Regions from separate parts of the Homo sapiens genome. Here all the other regions are linked to region 6. The links are contacts of gene promoters, found by promoter capture Hi-C in blood cells and fetal thymus (Javierre and others, 2016). All regions are on one chromosome and are shown on one strand. Each heading gives the region's core, a stretch centred on a gene start or on the middle of the fragment in contact. The rest is flanking DNA. Distances are from core to core; before and after follow the strand shown.

The links. Contacts are between HindIII fragments. The CHiCAGO score rates a contact against its expected background, and 5 or more counts as called.
Region 1: a contact is called between a fragment that was not itself captured here and the fragment with the promoter of SLC25A36 in region 6, in 1 of 17 cell types (naive B cells). The highest score is 5.3, in naive B cells.
Region 2: a contact is called between a fragment that was not itself captured here and the fragment with the promoter of SLC25A36 in region 6, in 1 of 17 cell types (non-activated CD4 T cells). The highest score is 5.6, in non-activated CD4 T cells.
Region 3: a contact is called between the fragment with the promoter of TRPC1 here and the fragment with the promoter of SLC25A36 in region 6, in 1 of 17 cell types (fetal thymus). The highest score is 8.7, in fetal thymus.
Region 4: a contact is called between a fragment that was not itself captured here and the fragment with the promoter of SLC25A36 in region 6, in 1 of 17 cell types (M0 macrophages). The highest score is 5.2, in M0 macrophages.
Region 5: a contact is called between a fragment that was not itself captured here and the fragment with the promoter of SLC25A36 in region 6, in 1 of 17 cell types (M2 macrophages). The highest score is 5.5, in M2 macrophages.
Region 7: a contact is called between a fragment that was not itself captured here and the fragment with the promoter of SLC25A36 in region 6, in 3 of 17 cell types (fetal thymus, total CD4 T cells and non-activated CD4 T cells). The highest score is 6.8, in fetal thymus.

The regions. Positions count from the first base shown.
Region 1 is chr3:139,359,642-139,362,341 of GRCh38, reverse strand. It overlaps COPB2 (coat protein complex I subunit beta 2), which reads left to right. Exons shown (of 22, transcript NM_004766.3): 17 at 1,047-1,261. Among named protein-coding and RNA genes, the nearest start is that of MRPS22, 17 kb to the right of the region's middle. The HindIII fragment of the contact is 4,235 bases long and covers 1-2,700 here.
Region 2 is chr3:142,580,337-142,583,036 of GRCh38, reverse strand. It overlaps the pseudogene RPL6P9. Among named protein-coding and RNA genes, the nearest start is that of ATR, 3.0 kb to the right of the region's middle. The HindIII fragment of the contact is 1,721 bases long and covers 574-2,294 here.
Region 3 is chr3:142,722,739-142,725,438 of GRCh38, reverse strand. TRPC1 (transient receptor potential cation channel subfamily C member 1) reads right to left here and starts at 1,405. Exons shown (of 13, transcript NM_001251845.2): 1 at 708-1,405. The coding sequence starts at 879. RefSeq lists an enhancer at 1-853 and a silencer at 1,112-1,161. The HindIII fragment of the contact is 1,344 bases long and covers 735-2,078 here.
Region 4 is chr3:139,521,241-139,523,940 of GRCh38, reverse strand. The region is part of intron 2 of RBP1 (retinol binding protein 1); the gene reads left to right. The region is part of intron 3 of COPB2-DT (COPB2 divergent transcript); the gene reads right to left. Among named protein-coding and RNA genes, the nearest start is that of RBP1, 17 kb to the left of the region's middle. The HindIII fragment of the contact is 793 bases long and covers 960-1,752 here.
Region 5 is chr3:139,446,838-139,449,537 of GRCh38, reverse strand. All of the region lies in intron 3 of COPB2-DT (COPB2 divergent transcript), which reads right to left. Among named protein-coding and RNA genes, the nearest start is that of RBP2, 28 kb to the left of the region's middle. The HindIII fragment of the contact is 1,015 bases long and covers 760-1,774 here.
Region 6 is chr3:140,940,408-140,943,107 of GRCh38, reverse strand. It overlaps SLC25A36 (solute carrier family 25 member 36), which reads right to left and starts at 1,272. Exons shown (of 7, transcript NM_001104647.3): 1 at 1,013-1,272. The coding sequence starts at 1,053. RefSeq lists enhancers at 119-348, 1-835, 929-1,298. The HindIII fragment of the contact is 2,098 bases long and covers 251-2,348 here.
Region 7 is chr3:142,445,308-142,448,007 of GRCh38, reverse strand. XRN1 (5'-3' exoribonuclease 1) reads left to right here. Exons shown (of 41, transcript NM_001282857.2): 1 at 1-138. The coding sequence starts at 64. Among named protein-coding and RNA genes, the nearest start is that of XRN1, 1.4 kb to the left of the region's middle. RefSeq lists enhancers at 1-253, 1,786-2,145. The HindIII fragment of the contact is 564 bases long and covers 1,031-1,594 here.

The sequences.
Region 1 (2,700 bases), core at 1-2,500, 1.6 Mb after region 6:
TGTAATGTTTTGTTATTAAAGTTTTCCCAAATGCAAATTAGTGGCTCATTTTGTTGAAGTTATTGTCTCTCTCTTATCTTTTTAAAAGATGTATTATGTTAAACTTTGCATAAGTTAAATTGATTACATTGGAGATATTCTTAGCACTCTAATTTGTTTTAAGAAAAATTGTTTTCATATCTTATGTGAGCTCTATTTTGCAAGATAAGAAAAGATGTAAAATAGTATGTAAACTAGTCTGGAAAGCCTAAGAGTACAGACATAGCAGTTATTTGCCAATGTCTGAAACTAACTAAAAATATGTTGGTTTTGAAAGACAGCCCAACCCCCTCATCTTTTGGTGTTGAATAGAGCAGGCAGTCAGAGAAGGACAGTGCTGCCTTGGTGGCACTCACCTTCAGCAGCAGATGCTCTTAGCACATCTGGTCTAAATGTTTGAGCTAAATGAGCTGTTCAGGGAGGCTCAAGTGGGAGAAATGTTAATACCATTTTTGTAATGATATTTTTATAGATCTTTGTATATTGAGGCTCCCAATTGTTTCAGACTGGCATTTACTGGTAAATTAATTTCAGATGTGCAAAATAAATTTTAGCTACGTTAAGATCATCTAAACATGCAGCATTTTGAGTTCTGAAAAGCTACAAGTGAGACATAATATTATTGTGAAATATTTAAAGACGTAGTTTTGTATGCTTTCAAAAAAGTGATATTAAATCACTTGTTAAAATAATTGCAGTCTAATTGCCTTAAAACTCCAGTGAGATGGTTTTACTTTCCCTGTGTAATTATAAGATAAAAGTATAATGGGTTGACGATAATTATTTGCACATCATTAAAATTGATTTGTGTTTAAATTCATTTTGTATACATTAATAATTTCCATTTCCTCACTGTACATTTTGCAATGCCATTCTTATTTTGATAGAGCCAACTTAACAAACACAGCTCTTTTTATAAACATTGTCTGCACAGTTAACAGAATAATGTTGGAAATGTAAATGCTTATTTCTAAAGATATTTTAACTTGGAAACTCTTTTCTTACAGTCAGAACAGAAGTGGAAACAACTTGCTGAACTTGCCATTAGTAAATGTCAGTTTGGCCTAGCCCAGGAGTGCCTGCATCATGCACAGGATTATGGGGGCCTGCTGCTTTTGGCCACTGCCTCTGGAAATGCTAATATGGTGAACAAGCTAGCAGAGGGTGCGGAGAGAGATGGCAAAAATAATGTGGCATTCATGAGCTACTTTTTACAGGGCAAGTGAGTATTAATTTAAAAGATTAATTAATTCTACACTGAGGATGGTTTTTGGAGAGGGAAGTGAAGAATGAACCCTGGAGAGAACTGATGAATGGCCAAATGGTGTTGAATAGACGGGGCAGTCAGAACAGGACAGTGCTGCCTTGGTGGCACTCACCTTCAGCAAGGGATGCCCTTAGCACATCTATCTAAATGTTTGAGCTAAATGAGCTGTTCAGGGAGGCTCAAGTGGGAGAAATGTTAAACACCTTCTTCAACAGCCCTGCCAGTTAATGGTGGAAGCATTTTATTTTATGATTGCAGGAGGCTATTGAGCTGCTCTAGTAGGTACCTGAAGGGCAGGTGATTTTACCCAAATTGGATAACTTTGATCCATTTATGGCAAGAACAAAAGGGGATAAGTATGCCACTTACTTGTAGATTTGAGCCCACTATAAAGCATAAAGATGTCTCATATTTTTAAGTCTAACCGAGTTAGCATAAACCAAATCATTTGGACATTAGTTGGCAGTATTATGAAATAAAACACAAAAGTATTCTTTCCTTTTTTTTTTTTTTTTTTTGAGATGGAATCTCACTCTGTTGCCCAGGCTGGAGTGCAGTGGCATGATCTCGGCTAATTGCAGCCTCTGTCTCCCTCGTTCAAGCCCTTCTCCTGCCTTAGCCTCCCAAGTAGCTGGGATTACAGGCATGCGCCACCACACCCGGCTTGTGTTTTTAATAGAGATGGGGTCTCACCATGTTGGCCAGGCTGGTCTCAAACTCCTGACCTCAAATGATCCGCCTGCCTCGTCCTCCCAAAGTGCTGGGATTATAGGTGTGAGCCACCACGCCCAGCCCGAAAGTATTCTTTAACCTTCTCCTACATACTGATTTTTTTTTTTTTTTACAATCCCATACTTCGCCATATAACTTTGAACGTGCACCCCATTGTATGTATGTGAATGTATTTATGAATTTATATACCTGTAAGAATAGACCCTATTCCTTATCCATAATTCAAAAATCCAAAAATATTCTGAAAACAGTTATAACTGTTTTGATGGCAAGACCTGAGCTGAACTGCTTTAGTATTTTTAGTTGCTTTTATACCAACTTGGTACATTTTTATTGCATTTAACATTCCTATGTAAGTTATTGCAGTATTAATGTTTGTGGCTTTTTCATGCTGAGGATGTAAGGTAATACATAGTATACATACTGTATCACCTTTCGAAAATCCAAAAAATCCTGAATTCTGAAACATATTGTCCACATCATAAAACTTGCACAGAAAAAAAATGAAATTAAAATAGAAGAAAAAATAAGACACCATGGTATTCTGCTGGGCACCACTGGCTTGTCTGGCCCTTCCCATGTTGGAGACACTGCCCTAGATATTTGTCTTGTGGAACTGAATTTCTGCTGGCATATATCCTTATGCCTTTAAAATTTGCTAA
Region 2 (2,700 bases), core at 185-2,684, 1.6 Mb before region 6:
TAGATTGTGTCCTCTATTTTTCCAATACATGCTGTTTATATCCCTGTCCTGGCATTCACTGGATTTCACTTTGCTCTTAATTGTCTATGTTCTCATTATATCCTTTCTGTATCCACAAATTGTACATTACCTGAAATTAACTTTTTTTTTTTCCTCTGAGACAGGATTTGGCTCTGTTGCTCAGGCTGGAATGTAGTGGCGAGATTGTGGCTTACTGTAACCCTGGCTTCCTTGGCTCAAGCCATCCTCCTACCTCAGCCTCTCAAGTAGCTGGGACTACAAGTGTTAGCCACTATGCCCCGCTGAAACTAACTTCATCTTCCTCATTTTTGTGTCTGTCACAGAAGTACCTAACCCAATATCTTGCCCAAAATGACTTTTTGAATTAAATGGGATTTCTGAGGCTCTATTATTTATAAGGCTTGCAAATTTATACTGCTTTTTAGAATTACCATGCTATTTAGCTATTGCCTTCCAGATAGCATTCTAATTTTTATAATCTTTCTTCATATGTTCTAAAAATAGCTAAAATTTGGTATTTTTAAACTATTTTTCAGATGTGTTATTTAAGCTTAAAAGTATACTTATTTTAGTTTTTAAATGCATCAGTTATTTAATTAGGTTCTTGGTAAGACATTTAGAACACCTATTTGCTAGGATAAACTCCATTCATCAGAGCAAACACAGATTACAGGTAGCCCTGGAGCTAAGGAATAGCTTTGATTTTTGGTAACATTTACGAGTCCACAACTTTCTAATTTTTTTTTTTTTTTTTTGAGATGGAGTCTTGCTCTGTCACCCAGGCTAGAGTGCAGTGGTGCGATCTCTGCTCACTGCAAACTCTGCTTCCCGGGATCAAGTGGTTCTCCTGCCTCAGCCTCCCCAGCAGCTGGGATTACAGATGCCCGCCACCACGCCAGGCTAATTTTTGTATTTTTAGTAGAGATGGGGTTTCACCATGTTGGCAGGCTGGTGTCGAACTCCTGACCTCAAGTGATCCACCCGCCTCAGGCTCCCAAAGTGCTGGGGTAACAGGAGTGAGCTAGCGTGCTTGGCCACGAGTCCACAGCTTTCTGATCAACCTTGCATTGCTCCATAATCTTCTATTACTCTCTTTCTGTGTTGACGATGTCACTTTCCCAGTATTTGGGCTTCCATAGCATCATCTTCTTAAGCAAGCATTGGTAAGATGTTTTGGAATTTTCACATTGCTGATTTCAATTTTGTGATGACCTCTGGTGTGTTTCCCACAGAATGTGAATGAGGACCAGAGGTCCAGTCACAATTAACAAGCCACTCCTCAGCTGCTCCAGTAAAACCACCCTCTTGCCTTTGTGGTGCCCAGTGAGGATAAGCAGAATGATCCCAGGAGAGAAGCTAGTTTGCAGTTTTCTCTGTGCTGACTGAAGTGTTTCTGTTTGTTTTTTCTGTGGCTCAACAGCAGCTTTCCAGGCACATCTTTGGAAGGATCTAGGCATTTTGTAGGGTTTACTTTGCAAAAAGTATCACCATTCTTGTTGCCACCAACTGGTTTTGTAGCAATGGCAAGAACCTTTTCCTTTTTCAAGTCTGGACTTTCTTCTTTTTAATTCTGGATTTAGTACCCGAGTACTTCCTCTTGTACCTGGCCTTTTTGACATAGCAGATTGAGAATATCTGCCAATTCCTCTGATAAGGACAGGATTTCCGCTGCAGGGGGGCTTCCCTTTCTTTGGCTTTTTAGCCTTGAGGTGTTTTTGTTTGTGTTTTTTGACGGAGTTTCGCTCTTGTTGCCCAAGCTGGAATGCAATGATGCAATCTCGGCTCACTGCAACCTCCGCCTCTCGGGGTCAAGCGATTCTCCTGCCTCAGCCTTCCGAATAGCTGAGATTACGGGCGCCCACCAGCACACCCAGCTAATTTTTTGTATTTTTAGTAGAAATGGAGTTTCACCATGTTAGCCAGGCTGGTCTTGAATTCCTGACCTCAGGTGATCCGCCTGCCTCAGCCTCCCAAAGTGCTGGGATTACAGGCGTGAGCCACCGTGCCCAACCGAAGTTATGTTTTAACCTTGCCACTAGCATCAGCCTTCTTGGCTTCACGTTTCTTCTCCTTGGTGTCTGGCTTCTCAACTTTTTCCCCCACCATCTTACAAGACGGGAAGGAGCTATTTTTTTTAATACATGTTGGAATATCCTGGCTATGCAGATACAAATAGTAATATAACATCCACCCAAATATAACATTAAATTTTGATTAAATAATAATTAATTCAAATCCTACTAAAAGAAAACCCTTAGGGATACATTGAAGCTTCATCATTTCATTCCCTTCTCTCCCTTCCACAGGTGCAACTATCCTGGAGTTGATATCTATCTTTGCCAAACATGTTTTCATACTTTTATCAAACATATTTGTATACATAACTCACACAACGCATTGTTTTGTGGTTTTAAGATTGTATATAAATGATATGACACTATTATGTATACCTTTGAATTTGCTTTTTCAATCAATGTAGTTTTCAGGATTCATCGTTGGTATAGGTAGTATAATTCATTCATTTTAACTATGAAATTATATTCCACTTTATGACTTTACCCCCTCTTATTTAATCTTTGCTGTAATCTTGTGAGGTAGACATTATTAATCCCATTTTATAAATGAAAAAATGGAAGTATTAAGAGATTAAGTAACTTTACTGAGGTCATATAGTTTCTA
Region 3 (2,700 bases), core at 156-2,655, 1.8 Mb before region 6:
TCTTTATCTCCCAAAGAAAGATCTGGGAGCAATAAATCTTTCTCTCCAATAAAAAGCACTAACAATCAAAGGCGTTCCGTAAATCCAGAGAAAGTTTTGGCAACTAAGGCAGAATTTCTTCCGTCCCGTCCTTACTTCATGTATCTCCACCTAGGATATTCCGTTATTAATGCCAGTCAACAGTCACTGGCTAAAGCACTGGTCAGGTGAAGCTAAATAATAGAGGGTCTGGTTTTGTTTTTAAGAAAAACAAAAACCAGGTGATGAGAACCCTCCATACGAGGCATCCTAAGGTAAGGTGACGGAATTTTCCGACTGGAGTGTCGGAAACTAGCCTCTCGACTCCCGGAAGGAATGAACTGCGAGCCAGAGAGAAGACCAGGTCATTCATGCGGTCAGTAGCAAGGGCGGCGCTAAAACGCTGGGGTCGGGGCTCCCAAGGCGCTACCTAAACCCCGGACCCCAAGGCCAGAGCCACCCCCGACGGTGCAGCGCTCCGAGGGCGCAGCCCCAGCTCCACTCTCCCGCCAGCTCCACACTCACAGGGCAGAGGCGGTGAGGAGAAGACCGCCTGAGGCAGCAGGCGAGGCGGGAAGACACTCGGCGCCTGAGACAGAGGGAATGCCCCGATATAAGTTGAGGCGGGGGAGAGGACTAAAGGTCTGGAGGACAGGGGCGTCCAGAGGAGAAAGGGGCCTAACTCTCACCCTTGTCGCACGCCAGCAAGAAAAGCTTCTCATTCAGCGTATTCTCCTCCTTCACCTCCCGCACATCCTTCAGCGCCATCACCTCGTTCGGCGAGGAAGAGGATGGAGAGGAAGGCAGGGAGGAGGAGGAGGCGCCCGAGAGGTCCGTGCTCGGGTACAGGGCCGCCATCATCGCGGCCCATGAAGGGGGCAGGCCAGGAGACGGGGGCGGGGCCCCCACCGGCCCCGACCCCGACCCCGACCCCAGCCACGCCCCAGGGCTGGAAAAAGGATGAGTCGTTCCCACTGCTGCCTCGGCTCGAGGCCCGTTGGCCCCGAAGGGCGTCGCCTCCCCTGAGAACCAGCACTCGCCCTCCACTGACAGCCCCAAGTTGGTGGCGGCGCATGCGCGGCCCCGGGGCCAGCGACCCCTCCCCAGCCGCCGGCGCCCCGGCCGAGCCGGTCCGCGCCCGTCCGGGGACGACAGTGTGGCGCGCGCCAGGGCGGCAGCCGAGCACGGGGCCGTGCCAGGAGTCGCAGGGGCCGCGCCTGGGGCGGCCTAGCCCAGGAAGAGGACGAGAGATCTGTGGGAGAGGAGCTCCAAGAGGCGCTTCTGCGCACGTTGGGCTCCAGGGCTGTGGGAACCGCTGGCCCAGCTGCGCTCCGAGGAGATGTTCGCGACTCTGTCCTCACGTCATCCTCTGCTCCTCTGTAGCGACGACACTAGGGAGGAGCCTGCGGCAAGGGCGGGCTTGGGTGGGCGGGGCCTGCGGCAAGCGGGGCGTGGGTGGGTGGGGCCTGCGGTGGGGACGCACTGGGCTCCTGGAGCCCGCTGCAGCTTCCTTCGCTCTGGTGAGGTGAACCGCAGTCTGAGGAAGACTTCGCTCAATCGTCCCTTTCCACACCCAGGGTACTGGTTTAAGGTAATTAAGCAAATATGGAGCAGTATGTTAATTGAGTCTCTGACGACTTAATGTTTAGTCGAAATCCTTTGTGGAATTGTCCAGCTATTTCATATTCTGGTGCACTATGCTTTAAAGCACAATGGAGAGCCAGACTCGTGGGTTTGTATGTTGTACTCATTTTAGGCTGGAAATGAACTCTCATTTATAAAGGATATATAGATATATAATTATATTATGTTTAAATAATTTATACAAATATATAAATTTTTATTTCCATATTATTTCCATAGGTTTTTGAGGAACAGGTGGTGTTTGGTTACATGAGTAAGTTCTTTAGTGATGATTTGTGAGATTTTGATGTACCCATCATCGAGCAGTATACACTGAACCTAATTTTGTAGTCTTTTATCCCTCTCCCCCTTCCCAACCTTTCCCCGAGTCCCGAAAGTCCATTGTGTCATTCCTATGCCTTTGCATCCTCAAAGCTTAGCTCTCACTTGTGAGTGAGAACATACGATGTTTGGTTTTCCATTCCTGAGTTACTTCATTTAGAATAAGAATAATAGTCTCCAGTCCCATCCAGGTTTCTGCGAATGCCATTTATTCATTCCTTTTTATGGCTGAGTAGTATTCCATCATTATATATATATCACATATATATATACCACATATATATATATATATATATATATCACAGTTTCTTTATCCACTCATTGATTCATGGGCATTTGGGTTGGCTCCACATTTTTGCAATTGCGAATTGTGCTGCTATAAATATGCATGGGCAAGTATCTTTTTCGTGTAATGACTTCTTTTCCTCTGGGTAGATACCCAGTAGTGGGATTACTGGATCAAATGGTAGTTCTACTTTTAGTTCTCTAAGGAATCTCCACACTGTTTTCCATAGTGGTGTACTAGTTTACAGTCCCACCAGTAATGTAGAAGTGTTCCCTTTTCACCGCATCCACACCAACAGCTATTATTTTTTGATTTTTTTGATTATGGCCATTCTTGCGGAAGTAGGGTGGTACATACGGCATAGCAGTTTTGACTTGGAATTCCCTGATCATTAGTGATCTTGAGCATTTTTTCATATGTTTGTTGGCCAT
Region 4 (2,700 bases), core at 107-2,606, 1.4 Mb after region 6:
AGCAGGCATCGTGGTGCTCAGCAGGCAGCCCCTGCAGGTCTCCTCATGGATCCCAGTATCCTAGAAAGAGAAGGAGCTTCCAAAACCTTGGCCATGATGAATAGCATGTCAGTCACTGCTTCACAAATCTCCAACTCTTAAAAAAAAGGCTTTCATTATTGTTCAACATTGACAAGGAAACCCATCTTTATCTAAGCTCTGGGCATCATGATTACCATTACCTAGTGCCTCCTATATGCCAGCCCTATGCATTTTCTGTATATTTTCTCAAATCCTCAGAACAACCTGGTGAAGTAGGTGCTTTGTTTATCTAATGCCATGTAACCAGCCCAAAACTTAATAGGTTAAAACAACAACCTTATATTCTCATGATTCTGTTGGTTAATTGTGCAGTTCAGCTGCCTGTGGCTGTGTTCAGCTGAAAGCTCAGTTGGGGCGCCTCAGCTCTTCTCCAAGTGGCTTCTTTCCCATCCTCCAGGGCTTCTCCTTGTGCCCTTTCTCTTTGGCAGAATATCCTGGACTGCCTTAACATATAGCAGCTGGGTTTCAAGAGGGGAAGATTCCAAGAGGACAAGCCCCCAGCATACAAGTGTTTATAAAGGCACTACTTCCATCATGCTTGTTCATGTCTCACTAGCCAGAGCTAGTCACGTGGCCAAACCAAGCCGATGTAGGAAGAGACTTCACAGGGGTTTGAATATCATGAGACTCGGGAGTCACCAGTGGAAGAGTCTACCACAGTAGGTATCGTTTAGCCTTCTTTTGCAGTTGAGGGCACAGAGACTCAGAGAGGTTAATCCAGTTGCCCAATGTCATCCAACATAGTCAGGAACAGAGGACCCAGCTCTCTCTGATACCATGTTCTTTGCTGCCCATACTAAGTCAACCTGATATAGGTTGAGGTGGTATAGTAGGAGGCGGGCAGGGACCAGGAGCCAAGTATAAATGGCCAGTAAGCTTCCAGGATTCTTTAACCCAGAGTACAACCTGACCAATTCCCTGGCCCACCTGCCCGCCTGGATGGTTCTACCCAACAGCACAGGCAGCAAAGACAGGCACTGAAAACATGCTCCAGGCCACAGTCTGGGTTTTTCAGTCTGATATTCTGGCCCCATCTCCCCACCACCCCCCAACAACCTTGTTCCTCCTCTCCTTAACTCCAGGATAGTCTTCTACAACACTGGCTTGTTGTCATTTCTCCCTCATCACCTCCTACCCCTTTCATCCTTTTTCACTCTGCCTAGAATGCCCCTCCCATTTTTAGAAACTCCTTTGAGGCCATGACAGCCTGGGCACTTCTCTGTGGGGACCTCTACAGGCAGAAATCTTTAAGACCTCTTTCTGACTCCCAGCACCCATACCCCCACAATGGTTGGAATGAACTTAAGGGTGTTCCTCCAGGAGTCTGCTCGGAGTCTTAGCACAATGTCCATGTGTTTTTCTGCAGCCCCCAATGATTTTAGCCACCATCTCGTGGGCACCTGGCAGGTGCCCTGCCCTAGACTGGGAAACAAGTGGGCACCAAGTCATGCAAAGCCCGTGCTCCAGCCCAGATTCTTTCTCTCATTTACTAGGTGACCAGAGAAAGTCATGGAACCTCTCTGAGCTCAGCCACCCCTCTACATCCAATACAGACAAGAATAATCTCTGCTTTGTCCAACTCCTAGCACTTTAGGAGGCCAAGGCAGGTGGATCACCTGAGGTCAAAGAAAATAATCTCTGCTTTGTCCAGTATCAGAGTCAACAGAAGCTTGGGGTTAAGAAAGGCTTTCTGGGAGACTGATGCAGTATGCATGTGATAGGGATCCTTCCCTTTAAGAAGCCTGGTTTGTAGGGCTCTCAGAAAGGCTCCTCTACACCCCAACAGACTTCTGCTCTCTCTATCCCTCAATCTGTCAAGCTGCCTGAAATTCTGCCATCTGTCATTCTTTTGGGCTAAGGTATTATTATTGTTTATATCCAGATGGCCCCTGTTAAAAGATGCCAGCGATCTGGAAATGGTAACACAGTAGCCCCAGGAGCAAAAGCATGCTTTACCATTAATAAACATCTCTCTCATGGTCATTCTCTGACCCTGGTGTTGGAAGGTAAATAGGTGTGAGCTTTCTGGAGATAAAGTTGGCAATACTCATCAAAAGCTTTACAAATATGCACACTCTTTGATGCAACAATTCCTCCTCTGGAAATTTCTTCTAAGGGAACAATGTGTTCAAAACTATGTATACAAAGAAGTCTTATTTATAGTAGCACAGAATTATAAATAAATAACTTAAATGTCCAAAATAGGTAATTGGCTAAATAACAGTATGTATGTACAATCAAATACTATCAGGGACTGTTTTGTGGGCCTGTGACAAAGGCAGTCCATCAGGGCCCCAGGCTCAGAAAGCCCCTCACTTGGTTTAATGCTCTGCTGTCACCAGCTTAAAAATCTTAATGATTTTGAGCAAAGAATCCCTCATTTTCATTTTGTGGTGGACCACACACACACTATGTAGCTACTTCCTAGAATATTACGTAGCAATTAAAATAATGCTTATGGAGAATATTTGTTGAAATGGGAAGTTGCTTCAATTAAATGAAGAAATGAGGATATGAAACCATAAATGATGCAATCCTAATTTTGTATAAAACAGAAACATGTAGATAGATAGATAGATATAAAAAAAAAAGAGTGGATGGAAATTTACCATACATTGT
Region 5 (2,700 bases), core at 18-2,517, 1.5 Mb after region 6:
GGCAAGGAGGGTTGGGGAGAGGTGGGGTGGGGGTTCTTGCCCATGGTGGAAGGCAGGAGGACCAGGATCTGGAGGGCTGTTCTCTCAGGCTTGGGTAGGTCATGAACACTTGTTTGGTCTCAGTCAGTGCACCAGGAGAGCCAGAGCTTCTGAGGAGAGTGATGTATCTGGGATTCTGCAGCTCAGAAAATGATACCCCAAAGTATAGCACTTTGGTGTGCTGAGTACTTTGAACTAAAGGACATTGGAAGACCTCAGAAGCAACCTCAGAACCATGGTCTCTTTGACTTCCTGCTTCCTATCTCTCACCCCTCATTTCTCCCTCAAAGCAAGTCATAGAAACATAATTCCTTGTACCCTAGGTGGGTCATAAAAACTGGAACCCCTCTCCCCCAAAGTAAGCCATGAACCCTGGAAATACTACTCTGACCTCCCCATCCCCTTCTGTCTAGGAGGTGGCCAAAAAGAAATTCTCTGACCTACCCTTATCTGATATTAGATCCTAAGGCCCTCATTGCAGAGGGGTCCTGCATCATACCCAGAAGGAAGAAATGCTACAACAGAGAGGCCAAGAAGAATCTGAACAGACAGGCCTTGCTGGGTTTTCCCATTCAGTCTATTACTACTGGATTATACCCCTTTTGTCCAATACAAAAAGAGTACATGGCTGTCCACTCTTCATCAAACCTAAGCATAAAAACAGTTTCCCCTGGGTCTTGGGGTCTTCATTTTTGAAGTCTCCCATATCACATAAAAGCTTGATTAAATAAATGTGTTATGCTTTTCTCTTGTTAACCTATCTTTTGTTCTAGGAGTGTGGTGGGGAGGAAAGATGTCACTCTTTTTCATCCCTAGGAGGACATGAACCAGGAATGCACTCCAGTCATTGTTGACAGGACAGATGAAGGTGGGGAGAGGAACCCAGGATCAAGTATTTCAGGGGAGAAGCAGTGAGGGACCCATATTAGGGATAGGGAGTGGTCACAGGAAGGAAGGGAAGAACAAGAGAGGTGCTTTAAGGAGCTGCCACACTAGGCAGGGCTGCATAAAGCTCACAGAGGAGGTGAGGGCATAAAGATGGTTGTGGGTGTGGGGACGAGGGAGGACAAATACACACAACACAGCTCAGCAGTGGCAGAGGGAGAGGGGGGTGCCAAAGGGAAGATCACGTGTTGAGTTAAGCCTGTTGTACATGAGGTGACAGAGCAATGACTGCAAAGGCTGGCACGCTCTGTCTCCCTCAACCACTGCCACCCTCCAATGACTAATTGTTACCCCCTTCAAGAGTCCAGCAGCTGCTGCTGGCTGAGAAGGGAGGGAGGTTTTGGCTGGGGCCAGAGCTGATGAAACAGTGACTGCCAGTTTTGAGGCTGGGAGATGCTGATGCCACAAGGGATAAGGGGAGCTACAGAAGGGACAGGAGGGGAGAATGAGGAAGAAGAGAAAGGAGGAAGGAGGAGAGGAGAGAATGTTGCAGGGAGAGGAAGGGAAACAGAGGGGAGAGGTGAAGAGGAAGGGATGAGGGGGTAGAGGAGGAGAGAAGATGGGAAAGGAGGGGAAAGGGTAGGAGGAAAGGGAAGTGAAGAGGAAGGCAGAGGGAAGAGGAAGGGAGAGGAGAGAAAGAGAGAGGAGAAAAGAGCAGAGGAGGGGGAAAGAATGGGAGAGAGGAAAGCAGGGAAGAGGATAAGGCAAAGGAAGAAGAAAGAAGAGGAGAGGGAAGAGGAGGGAGAAAGACTGGAACAAGTAAGAAGAGGGGAGAGAGATAGGAGAAGCTTGGAAAGAACACCTGCTCCTCACCAGCAAGAGATGAAAAGAGGAACAGGTGGGAGCTATGTCTTGCCTACCCAGGGTTCACAGACCACAGTCAGAGCAATAGCAGCTGAGACAGACCCCAGGGGCTTTCTGTAGCCTCTGTTGTTTTTTTCTCCAATGCAAAGGAAGATTCATTTTAGAACTAGGCAATTAAAGCAGAGCTAGTGCACCCACAGGAGGCTCATCCTGGGCCCTCAACTGGTCTTCAAGGCAAGGAATAGATCCAGGTTGTAGGCTTAATCCTTTGTTAAGCACCTCCTCTGTCCCTATTTGAGCTGTTTCCAGGACTAGGATGTAGGTGCCCATTCAGACCAGGTGAAATACTCAAAGTCCCATATTTGGTAAGTAGCAGAGGCAGAATTTGAACACAGGGGTTCTCTCTCCAGAGCCCTAAGGCCCTCCACACAGGAGGCGGCCCCTGACAGGGACAGGGCTATCCTTCCCCCAGCAATCTCCAGAGCCCTGGCATCTTCAGAGACCTCTAATCCCATTTCTTCCCAATCATTTGAAACCAGGAGTGTTAGATAGTTTTTGCATTGCTATAAGTACCTGGGACTGGGTAATTTATAAAGAAAAGAGGTTTAATTGACTCACAGTTGTGCAGGCTGTACGAGTATGGCTCTGGCATCTACCTCCAATAAGGGCCTCAGGAAGGTTATAATCATTGCACAAGGCAAAGGGGGAGCCAGTGATGTCACATGGCAAGAAAGAGAGCAAGAAACAGTCAGGTGGAGGTTCTGGGCTCTTTTAAACAACCAGATCTCACAAAAACTAACCAAGTGAGAACTCATTATCACCAAGGGGATGGCACTAAACCATTCATAATGAATCCATCACCATGATCCAATCACCTCCCACCAGAACCTACATCCAACATTGGGAATCACA
Region 6 (2,700 bases), core at 23-2,522:
CAAATGATTTAGAAGGAGCAAATCTAAACAGGAGGCTAAACTGGAAGCTCTAACACTCATTTTGGCAATCAGGGAACTAAGACTTTAGGCTTAGTCCTAATCTTGCACACACATAGTAACTATTAACACTATCTTCAAAAAATCTGACCTCTCTCCACTCCTACTTTCTCCTAAGCAGCAGAAAAGCAAGCGGTGTTCAAGAGGGGTGGTTTTCTCGAAAGGAATCTGACCCCAAAGGTACTGGAAAGCTTTGCACCCCATTCACCACCTGGAAAACCTCGGGCAAGAAATTTTCCAAGGGCTAGAAACACCCTACAGCAACCACGGGAGAATACCAAAGCCTTCCCCGCTCGATCCCGTAGCCCCCTTACCACCCACCTTGCAAAGCCGAGCCCGGAAATGAGCGGCCCGAGGTCCGAGGTGGGGCGTGAGTGACGTGCAGAGGCCCAAGCGAGCGCTGCAAGGAGCGAGGGCTAAAGGAGTCTCCGGCGCCCATTTTGTCCTCAGCCTCCGCACTTTCCGCCCCGTCCCCTTGGGCCATGCAACCTACGCGAAATCCGAAGCCAGGCTCCTCAAAGCGGCCCTGGATCCCCGACGCCTGCTAGATTGCGGCGTGCGGCCAGGTCCAGCGGCGTCCGGGTAATCAAGCGCCGACCCCAGCTCTTGCCCGCGTCTCCTCAGACGCATGGATTCGGCCTCCGCCTCACCCCGGCCCCGCGGGCCCAAAACCTCACTCCCGGCCCGGGTTTCATGCCTCAACCCTCTTTGCCCGGGCCTCACTCTCTCGCCCTCGGGCCCGGGCCTCACCCCCTTGCTTCCCCGAACCGGAGCCCCCCTCACCACCCACGGGCTGGGTCGCTCCCCTCACCCGCAGGCCCGTGGCAGCTCCCCGCCCAGGCCTCACTCCCGCCCCCCCACCCCCCCACCCCCCTCGGCCCCCCTCGCCCCCCTCGCCTGCGTCTTCGGCCCCAGCACCCTCAGCCCCAGTGCGCACGCCCCGCCAGGACCTTACCCTCCGGCAAACAGATGCACCAGCGTGTCCCTCTGGCTCATTCTCTCTCCCGCATGTCCTCCGGCCGCTGAGGCGGGACGCGGATCTGGCCGCCCGCTACGGCAGGCGGCTTCGGTCCCGGACTGGAGACGCACAGCGCCCCGGGGACGGCGAGGAGAGCTGGCCGAGATGCGGCTGCAGAAAGCAACCGGCACAGCCCTCCCCGCGGCACTCCAGCCGCGCCACCGCCTGCCTAAGCGCGCCGCCCTTCACCAGAGGCTGAAAGCGACGCAGCGCAGCGCGACGGAGAGTGGGCGGGGGATGGTAGGGGGAAGATGACTATTTGATGGCTCCCGACATAAACAGAGGCTCCCATTGGTGTGAGCGTCGTGACGTCACGCACTCTGCAGTGTTCTTTCACGTGATCCCTACGGGCTCTTTCAATGAAAGGGGCCGCGAGGCGTGGCCAGAACGCGTGCCCGGAGGGTGGTAGGTCACCGCGCTCCTAGCACCTGAGACCTGGGGCGCCCCTGGCCTGAGTGAACGCGCCAATCACGGCTGCACTCTCCTGAACAGGGAACTGGCGGGGCGGGAAAAATCGACTTGGTTCCGGGTTCGCAAGCGGATTTACTTTGAAAAAATTGGATTTATGACCCAGCAGTTCCCTTGGTGTCTATCTCAGAGTAACCCTCGCACAATGCATAAAAAGGTTTGTGCACGGATACTCCTATATAGGCTCACAAACAGTACAGAATTATGAACAATGCTTGCAGTTGCAGAAAATTGAAATCAGTGGGGGAATGAAGAAATAAATCATGAAACATTCCTACTATGGAATATTATGCAATCGTGACAAGGGATGAGGTGATTCCATATGGCAAAAAATCTCCCGAAGTGTGTAATAAGTAAAAAAGGCAAGTAGAATTAAAATACTTGGGTTTGTTTTTAAAAGAATAAAAGTTCATGGGAAATGGAATTAAAAGATAAAATTTAAAAATATAAACTTTGTTTTTCAACGTAAGCTCCATCAAGTTAAAGACAGTTTGGTAAGTGATGATACCGGCTCTTTAGTCCATCTGTAAAGAATTGAGGGTTCTGGGAATTTAATCATGAAAATGCAGGCTTTTTTACGTTATTAACTGAAGAAAAATGGGTGCCATTTACAGATTTTTCACGATTAGAAAACAAAAATATGTCAGAAGGAGCCAGGTCAGGAATGTAAGATGGATACCTGATAGTTTCCCATCGAAATCCCTGGAAAAATGCCCTTATTTAAAGAGAGGAATGAGCAGGAACATTGTCCTGATGGAGAAGGACTCTCTGGTGAAGATTTCGTAGGTGTTTTTATGCTAAAGCTTTGCTTCACTTTCTCCTATAGTAAGCGGATGTTATTGCTCTTCCACCCTCCAGAAAGTCAACAGGCAAAATACCTTGAGCATCCCAAAAAGCTGCTGCTATGACTTCGGCTCTTGACCAGTCTACTTTTGATTTGACTGGACCACTTGCACCTCTTGGTAACTATTGCTTTGATCCAGAATCATACTGAGAAAGCTATGTTTGATCTCCTGTTACAATTCTTCAAAGAAATGTTTCAATATATGATCCCACTTGTTTACAATTTCCATTGAAAGCCCTGCTCTTGTCTGCAGCTCATCTGGGTGCAACAGTTTTGCACCCATCGGGTGAAAAGTTTGCTCAACTTCAGTTTT
Region 7 (2,700 bases), core at 63-2,562, 1.5 Mb before region 6:
GGAGCCCCGGCGGGGCGTTTGGTTTCGGTTTGGCCCTGACTGGGATTAGTGTTGACGATCGAAATGGGAGTCCCCAAGTTTTACAGATGGATCTCAGAGCGGTATCCCTGTCTCAGCGAAGTGGTGAAAGAGCATCAGGTGGGTGAGCGAGGGGCAACGGCTCAGAAAGCCGAGGACCCGGGGCTCCGCGGCCCTCTCCACCTTAGAGCTGGGGCTTTCGAGCCACCTCTTTCCCCTCGTCGTCTGGACGATTAGTGGCATTAGGGAGGGGGACGGAAGGTTTGAGGACGCCCGGATGAGCCGAAAGGGGCTAAGGACGCAGGTTGCCTGTGTGTGGACAGAGCCGCTGGGTTCACGGCTTCTCTGACAGCTCTTGCTTCTGCTGGTCCTTCCGCGACTCCGAAATGAAGTCCTGGGAAAGAACGCTTTTACTGTTCTCCGGTTTCCTCCCGGGGAGCTGCAAGTTGCCTTTTTCCTTACAGAGGCTGCGAAGCTGGAGTGGGTGTCCTCGTAGGTTCCCCCATCCCACCCAGAGCGGCAGACCCACTTACAGACGATAACAGCCGCTTCCGCACGCAGTCACCTTGTTTACTTTCCCTGATCTAGAGCGCGGCCCACCCGGCCCCCGGAGCCTAGACTTTCCGACGTGGCTGATGGTCATATTGGTGATGCCTTTTGTTACTTTCTGTTATTTCAAAAGCAGCACCAATCCCCTGTTGCCAAAACAAAAAACTCTTGGGCCAGCTGGGGAGTGGGGCGTAGGACCTTTTATTTGGAGGCCTCACTGTGTGACAGAGGGGGTTGGGAAACGAATTGATAGAACATTAATACTACTAATAATATTTGGCATGTACTGACCCCAGGACAACGTTAATGTGTAGATTCCGAAAACGTAGTTTATATATTGGAACTGTGGAAAGAGAGGAGAAAGCAGTCGTCTATTAGGTAAACTAGACTTTGGGTGATACTTTGGTGTTTGTCACATTTAATGAATTTGATCTCTTTTCTGATGCTTTACAGAAAAAAAGCTTGAAATTTGTGTAGCTGATTGAATCAGTTGTGATGGGTAGTATTGTAAATAGCCTATTAAATTATGGTTTAATCGGCATTTACGAACATGAAGGTAGTTTACTTCTGGAAAGGAGTTTTTGTTGCTGGATTCCAATCAGATTTGGTAGATGAGAAATAGACTACAAAAAGTTTCCAAGGTTAGCTTATCTTGAATTTATTTGAAACATAGATTGAGTTAGGTTTAGAGAGGTATTTTTTTCCCCCGGGGAGGGCTAAAAAGGAAACCAGTACATTGCAGAAATGGAGACAACCAACTTTGGCTTTTCTTGCATCCTTCAGTCAGTACCTGCTATATATCAGTCACTTTATCTCTAAAGTGCAAAAATAATGCGATTGTTATTCGTGATGATTTAATACATAATTTGTTCAGTAATATTTTTATTCTGTAGTCTGTGGCACAGAATTTGGTTTGGTGAAAATATCTTAGATTCTCTCCATCCTGAGGAATTTTGTTACTGAAGAATGAAAATCTCTTTAATGCAGTTTTATGACATGGACACTAAGGATAGGTTTTGTGAAAGCTTTATATAGAAACTGGGAGGAGAATTATTTTTAAATTTCACTGTAAATAAATTTTAAAATTTGGTTCATTGTTGTGATACCTTTCAAAAATGTTTGATTAAAAAGAGACCAAAGGTTATCAGCTTCTCTGTTAAGTAGAACTTAAAGATGGTAATGCCTAAATAAGTCACAGGCATTCAAAAGCTAGTCCTGGGCGGGAAGGATAGGGAGAAGAAGTAAGTTACGGGAAGTCAGTGGTGTGGCCTCAGTAGCATAGGTTTTCAGTTTCTCTGAATCATCTTGTAAAAACAGAAAGAGAAACTAGAAACCAAAGTTTAAAATCCATAAAACAATTACAACAAACCATGTGACATGCTATCCCCATGAAACTCAAAACATAACTAGGTGAGGCAAACTATCAATAGTCTCTAGACACCGTTGATATTGCCATCTGTGCAAAAGCGAGAAGGAAGCAATGGGGCAACATCTGATGAACCTTAGAACAGAATTCCAGAATAGCCAGCGGTATCCACTAAAAGACTGTGCTGGCCAATTAGATAGCGGTAGCTGAAACAGAGGAGTTTTATTCACTCCATTATTGACTGGGTGAAGGTCTACCATAAGAAAGACCAAACAGGCAGGAGTAGTCTACCTCCTGTGAACACTCAAAACTGACTTGCCAAGGTGCCATTCTAGACCAGAGCCCTAAGGAAAAGGGAGTGGAATAAAGTCTTACGGAAATGTTATGCTGGAAGTGGAATAAAATTTTATGAAAGGGACAATAGAGACAAGAAGAGAAGGAGATAGACCATATAAAAGTGAGGCAAAGTCATAGAATCAAGAAATCTTAGAAAACAAACCACAAAGCAAACCACTGTATTTTTTAACACTACCCAGAAACAGCTTTGTGAACTTATATTCCCTGAACCTCTACTCATTCTAAAAGTTCAAGAAAATTAAATTCACATAAAAATGAGCTACAGAAAGGTATTGAGATCAAATTACATACAAAGTTATTATACGAGAAAAAGGGACAGAGTATCTCTCCAGACATAAAAACTTGCAATGAAAAAAATGCACACAAAATAGACCAAAATTATAACCAAAACTATTATCTATTTCACAATG